2 separate regions of the Homo sapiens genome follow, and region 1 is linked to region 2. Evidence: promoter capture Hi-C in 16 types of primary human blood cells and fetal thymus (Javierre and others, 2016). All regions are on one chromosome and are shown on one strand. The core of a region is centred on a gene start or on the middle of the fragment in contact, and the rest is flanking DNA. Distances in the headings are between cores, read along the strand shown. Region 1 holds the start of ZNF644 (zinc finger protein 644). Region 2 holds the start of ALG14 (ALG14 UDP-N-acetylglucosaminyltransferase subunit).

What was found. Contacts are between HindIII fragments. The CHiCAGO score rates a contact against its expected background, and 5 or more counts as called.
Region 1: a contact is called between a fragment that was not itself captured here and the fragment with the promoter of ALG14 in region 2, in 1 of 17 cell types (naive CD8 T cells). The highest score is 5.9, in naive CD8 T cells.

What each region holds. Positions count from the first base shown.
Region 1 is chr1:91,018,487-91,022,114 of GRCh38, reverse strand. It overlaps ZNF644 (zinc finger protein 644), which reads left to right and starts at 80. Exons shown (of 6, transcript NM_201269.3): 1 at 80-125. RefSeq lists silencers at 1-90, 421-490 and enhancers at 1-273, 274-823. The HindIII fragment of the contact is 702 bases long and covers 900-1,601 here.
Region 2 is chr1:95,071,141-95,074,497 of GRCh38, reverse strand. It overlaps ALG14 (ALG14 UDP-N-acetylglucosaminyltransferase subunit), which reads left to right and starts at 1,547. Exons shown (of 4, transcript NM_144988.4): 1 at 1,547-1,735. The coding sequence starts at 1,600. RefSeq lists enhancers at 1,426-1,785, 2,026-2,105. The HindIII fragment of the contact is 2,572 bases long and covers 1,209-3,357 here.

The sequences.
Region 1 (3,628 bases), core at 1-2,500, 4.1 Mb after region 2:
CTGGAGGCGAAAAGCGGGGAGCGGAGGGGGGCCGCTGGAGCCGAGTAGCGTACAGAGCGGCGTGTGACGCGGGGACGCCGCGTGCTCCCAACGTCGCCCCGGTTTGACGCACACGGCACCAAACTGTGAGTTTCAGGGGTTATTTGGTCAGATTCGCTGGGACCCGAGTGGGTTTCGGGCCTCTGGGCTGTGGCAGCGGCGGGACTGAGGGTGGCGGAAGAACTTGGGGGACCCGGCCTCCGGCTCTCGGGCCCGGGGAGCTACGCCCTAGGCTGGGTCCCAGCCATCCAAAAGGACGCATTTTGCCGCACAGGCTAAGATGGCGGCGGCGGCCGAGGAGGCGGAGTTGGTGCTACACAAGGAGCCCGGGCCCCGGGTTCGGGGAGGCGGCGGCCGCGGCGGTCGCTGGGGGCCACGGAGCCTGAGGTGAGCGGCGGCCGCCGCCGCGGGGCGGGACTCGGCGGGGGGATGGGGGGGGGGCTTTCCGCTGCGGCGTCGGAGGATCCGGTAGCGGACACAAAGGGGCTGAGCTGGGCACTAGACTTGGGGGTTTTGTTTAGTCACATGAAGCCGAGCAGCCAGTGAGCAGTAGGGGGAAGGGGCCGAGATCAGGCGGCTTGGGGAGCCTGGCGGTCGCCATTGCAATGCACTGAGTAACGGGGCGGGCCGAGAGCAGTCACCAACCCCTCTCGTTGAGGCTGCTCGGTTGTGGCCAGAAACGCTGGCTCTGGCATTAACTGTCTACACCCCTCCCCTTACTTGGGACAGGACCGCATAGCCCTCCCCTCCCCCCGTCCTGCAAGATCTTATGCGGCTAGGTGCCTGGGAAGTAACAGCAAGAGGTAAATCGCTCGAAGTGTTTGGGTTGCCAGGGGCTTGGTGGGTGTCCAGCTAAAGCTTTTTGCCTCTCCAGGTCTGATTCTCTGGCCTTTGTGTCCCTGGGAAGTTACTCTGCCAGAGGAAAGCAGGTGTGCTCCACTTCTCCCGTGAACCTGAAGATGAGTTGTCCCAGACTCTTCTCAGTGATTGGAAACTTAGGTGGTGGAGCTAAAGGTTACTTGTTACGAGACTTCTACAGACAACTCTTGTTGGGATCCATCTATGGTTTAGCAACATTAGTGGAAAAGTTTTCTTGAATATTGACTTTGAATATAAAAACGTTTATATTTAGACTTCAGATTTTGTGTGATCATCAAACTCAACGAGGGGATAAACATAATTGGGGGCGAATGATGGTCTTGTCTTGTTAATAATTTCAACAGAAGTATCACAACACCGCCGACTATCCTGTCCAGTCCTAATTCCACGCTTGTTGCATCTGGATGGTAGATTTGTTTTAATTGTGTATTCCCTCCCTGCAGTAGTTTGCTTTAGTTGTAAACATTTTTTGGTCCCATGAGAAGGAAAACATTTCAAAAAATAGACAACTAAAGTTTCTCAAAGAAAGGAAACCTGGCTGTTTGCCTTCAGTTGCATGTGTAAGTATCTAGGGAACTTGATGGCAGTAATATTGCATTTTGGTAGGCTTGCTAAGAAAAACCTCGTTTTTATAATAAGGCTATAATCTAGCTTAGACATTTTAATTGGTGAAGCATAAAGCTTGATTAGTATTAATGCAGTGGTATGTATTGCTTTTAAAAGTCTTACAATTTCTAACAAATTAAAGTTATACTGCAATTATATCATACTTTGTGTTGGTATTAACTCATGAAGTACAAAATTTTGAAACACCTAATGTTTTGTGTTGGCAATTAACAGAATTCCTTGGTTGGAGGGATATTTAAACACATTAGATCACTGTGTAGATCTCTGTGTTCAAACTGAAATTTGAATTTTTCAACATTAGTTAACTTTCATTTCCTTGTTCTTTTCAGATATATATTTTCTCTTTTTTTAGCTTCTAATACAGAACAGTCTTGTATTAATGAATAGGAGATGCATTAACATTAGCAAATGTATTCCTGGATCATAAAGTTTTACAGTGGAAGCAATATCAAAGAACAACTGCTCTTACCCTCCTCTTTTACAATATATTGAGGACCAGAGATGATTAAGTTAGTGGCATAATGGAAAATTGCCTTTCAGCCTCTACCCATTGCTGTTTGTATTTGTCATATTGCTGGGATGAGAAGGTGAATATCTACAACTAATGGTTAAAAAAACAAGGGAATGTTATTGAGAATACTTGTTAATTAAATATTGTTAGGTTCATGAGAACTTCTGTGACAATAAGTTAAAAACTTTCATATTGGCCTGGCACGGTGGCTCACGCCTGTAATCCCAGCACTTTGGGAGGCTGAGGCGAGCAGATCACGAGGTCAAGAGATCGAGACCATCCTGGCTAACATGGTGAAACCCCGTCTCTACTAAAAATGTAAAAATTTCCTGGGCGTGGTGGTGCCTATAGTCCCACCTACTCGGGAGGCTGAGGCAGGAGAATCACTTGAACCCGGAAGGCAGAGGTTGCAGAGAGCTGAGATCGTGGCACTGCACTCCAGTCTGGTGACACAGCAAGACTACATCTCAAAACAAAAAAACAAAAAAACTTTCATATTCTGTGGTTAACTTGGTTTTTAAAGTGACTTTCAGTGAAACAAAATCAGGTACAAAATACAGAAATATCAGATAGTTTCAGAGCAATGTTGCTTTTGAATTTTAAGGTTTTCCAAATGCAGTCTTGACCCAGAAATTGAAAAATTAAAAAACAACAACCAGGGACTTGATAAATTTCTTTGAAAGTTTGAAATAACTGCTGTTATTGCCAGTTATTATGTAGGAAAAGAAATGAGATCAATGCTGAAAATAATGGTGTCTTTCATTTTGTAATAGTGTTTTGGTTGGATAAACGAATGTGCCACTCAGAATGTTCCCTTTCTTTAAAACAACTTTTTAAGACTACTACTTCTACTGAGTGGTACCTCTAAGGTCTGTTAGGAAATTGAACAAGTAGTGACAGTCATTTATGGTGGAACCCTATAGTGATTTTTAACTTCTTTGAATGTCAGATTTAGCAAAAAGTTAAATTGTTTTAAGGTTTTAAAAGTTTTTATGGGTCATATAAGGTGCTTTTAAATTACTGATTTTTGTTAGTTGATAAGCTGTTTTATAATTTTCAACATTATGTGAGTGGATTTACTTACACTTTCATTTTGTGAAAATTAGAGTCACTTTCAGGTTATTTGTAGTTATAAAGTGGTCTGTCACCTGCCAACCTTAAACATTTTCCAGTTTTAGTTTGTCATTCAAGTTATAAGAGTGTTTTGGTTGAATTGAGACTGTTAATGGGTAGCAGGAGGAGAAAAGAAAGTTTCAAAGAGAATAGAAGTGGTGGGATATCTGCAATCTAGAGAAAGGTCAGGTCCATTTTTTTTCTGTCATCCTAAATATTGTTTTTTAGTGTTACTTATTTAGACCATTTTCTCAGGATGTGATTCTGGAAGGAAAAGTGAATCTTATTCTTGGGAAGGCTTTTCAGTCAGGTCTTAAGACAATTGTAGCTTGCAGCAAATGGAGAAATTGGCATGTTGAGTTATCTAACCCTGATTTTATAGAGCACTTGTTTTAACCATTTTTTAAACTGTTTTCTAAATGTTTTAAATTAGTAACCTTGTAAAATAAAACGAGAATG
Region 2 (3,357 bases), core at 298-2,797:
GGTGGTGCATGCCTGTAGTCCCAGCTACTTGGGAGGCTGAGGCAGGAGAATCGCTTGAACCTGGGAGGTGGGGGTTGCAGTGAGCCAAGATTGTGCCACTGCACTCCAGCCAAGCGACAGAGTGAGACTCTGTCTCAAAAAAAAAAAAAAAGAAAAGAAAAGAAAAGAAAGAAGATTTGATGGAAGACAATTTGGAAAGTGTTGTAAGGTCCACGGACTCTACTCACAAAGTCTCCCAAACTTGCTTGCTGATAGGAATGGACACGCTGGTTACATAAGCTAATCCCAGGTGCCCGATCCCCGGAAATTCTGATTCAGTGTTTCCTAATGGACCCTGGGAGTCTGCACCTTTAATAACACATTCTAGGCTCCAGGTAAGTGTGGTGATCAGGCAAGTTTGAATTTAGCAAAGGAATACAGGATGCAGTACTCCTGTCCAGCAGGACTCAGATTTCTGGTTTCTGATTCTAGATCTGACGCTATTCCACTTGGGCAAGCAGTTGCACCTTTCTGAACCTTTTTACTCATCTGTATACCTGTTCAATATAACCTACAGGTAGGTCTATGGTGGACCGAAGGCAAATTATATTTGGGGTGAAGGGGCTCCTGATCTTAGTATTTTATGTTGTCGTAATGTGGATTAATTAGACATAATTAATTTATTAACAATTAATTAATTAGACATAAGCAAAATTGAGATTGAAGGGGGTGTTGGCAGATCATCATTTTGGCTGAGGACATGAGAAACACACTGGAAATGCTTTGTGATAAAATTAACTGAATATTAATTGTAGGACTGTGCCTTGTCTATCCTGCTACCTAGAGCCACTGAGCTTTGCAATCCTCTTAGGAGTGTGGCTTACCTTTAGGTGGTCACCCTCAACTACTCTGGTCACACTGAGAGCTGTGAAAACCTCGAGAAAAGTTAAAAACATACATGTTGGGAGACAGGGGGTTTGGATGAGGGCCCTAAATTCGATGTTTAAGCCTAGGGTCCTTACTGGCGAACACTTTCAGTAATGTCTGTGTGCAACAGAAACATTTCTCTTGGCATTAAAAAAAAAAAAAGAAAGAAAGAAAGGATGTATTCCCTTAGCTTCAGGTGGCATTCACGAAGTTGACAGAGCCAGAACACCTCCTAACTGGGGAGTTTCGGGACCTTTAGGGCGCAGAGACTGCCTGACCTCGTCGTGGGCGTAAATCAAGCTTCCCCAGCGCTTAACTTTACAATTTTCAGCTTACGCTTGGCTGCAGCTGCGCACAATCCGCGCAGAAGCAGGGGTTCCGCTGACAAACGTGAACGTACAGAACGTAGAAACCTTTTAACGCTAATATGCAGTTTCCCTGTATGGCTGTTGTGCATTATTAATCTAGGTATTGCGTATTTAGTTTAGGAAACACGAATACTACATGATAAATGAGGTAAAATGGATTGTGACTGGGACCTCAGCTTCTCCGTCGCCTCCACTCCTCCCAGCTCAGGAAAGACCAGCCCACCAAGACGTGCGTCCTCCGCGTTTGAGTCGCTTCGGCACCCGTAGTTGTGAACTTTGACAGCGGCTGGTCCCCGGAAGTTGGACGCATGCGCCGTTTCTCTGCATGGTGTGCGTTCTCGTTCTAGCTGCGGCCGCAGGAGCTGTGGCGGTTTTCCTAATCCTGCGAATATGGGTAGTGCTTCGTTCCATGGACGTTACGCCCCGGGAGTCTCTCAGTATCTTGGTAGTGGCTGGGTCCGGTAAGTATCGAGGAGGCGACTGTCGGACTTGGGTTGGTCACTACAAACCCCAGAGTGCACCGCGACGCTCTTCCCTGGTACCCTTAGCACTTCTTGGAGTGTTGCATGCAGAGATTTGTAGTTTCTCTGCCTTGCCGGAACCGGGCAGTCCAGCCAGGGTAGGGGCTGGTTTGCTGACGCGGCCCAGAGGTTTTTTTTATGACAAGTAATTTACACTTGTCTATAATTAAGACTCTCTGTAGCGTATATTTTTCAAACAATTAGTGAACAGAGAACGTAGAAGCCTTTTGATGCAAACATGCAGTTTCCCCGTATGGCTGTTGTGCATTATTAATCTAGGTATTGCGTATTTAGTTTAGGAAACACGAATGCTACATGACAAATGAGGCAAAATGAATTGTCACATTTATAAATATACAAAGTCCAAGAGGATAAAAACAATGATCTACGGGCTGTAGAACAATACACACGCGGTGGCAGAGTGTGAGCAACACACTGACCTGTCAGGTAATACAATCTAAATCCACCAACTCTGTAGGTGCTTACAATTTTAAATACACATATTTGACAGGGACAGACAGACACACACAGACACAATGTAAACATTTGGGTATGGCAGGAGATTGCATCCAGATAGAACATGTATAGTATGAGTAAATGTACTAAGTTTATGTTCAAGTATAACGCATTACTTTATTCACTTAATCTGTTTTGAGCTGTTAGAAAGACCAAACACTAAACTAACCTCTGGAAATAACAAAACTGACTAACATTACTTGCCACGGAGTGCTGACTCCGTGCTAAGTCCTGTGAGAGATGCAAAGATACAGCAGTAAATGAAATAGAGAATACAAAAAAACTAACAGAAAATAAATCAAAATGAGTATTTGCCACAATGAGATAAATGCTATAATCTTGTAATAATTGTGTAAGAAGTACAAATTGCTATGGCAGTCTTCAGGAAGGGCACTACTTTATCAGGTCTTAAAAAACAGACAGCTTCCTGGAAGAAATGATGCTAAACTGAAACTTGAAAGATGACCCAGAATTAGTCAGATGAGGGACAGCCAGGGTTTCGAGGGCTGGGAGGATGTGAAAAGAAGGTGATAACACTTGGAATGACCAGAGTTGAGAGAACACTATCGTGTAGAGTTCAATGTAGGGAGGTAAACTGAGTCCAGATTGTAAAGAGTATTTAAAATCTTGCTTTTTTTCTTTTTTATACAGAGTCTCACGCTGTTGCCCAGGCTGGAGGGCAGTGGCGCAGTCTCAGCTCACTGCAACTCCACCTCCCAAATTCAAGCCATTCTCCTGCCTCAGCCTCCCGAGTAGCTGGGATTACAGGCGCACCACCACACTCAGCTAATTTTTGTATTTTTAGTACAGACAGTGTTTCACCATGTTGACCAAGGCTGGTCTTGAACTTCCGACCTCAAGTGATCCTCCTGCCTCAGCATCCCAAAGTGCTGGGGTTGCAGACGTGAGCCACCCCTGGCCTAAAATCCTGCTTTATAAAGCAATTGCTGCTACTCCACTGTTGATATCATGTAGGGGTTAAGACCACAGGCCTCTAGGTTGTCATAACACCACACATGAATCACATTTCTGCCACTTACTACCTT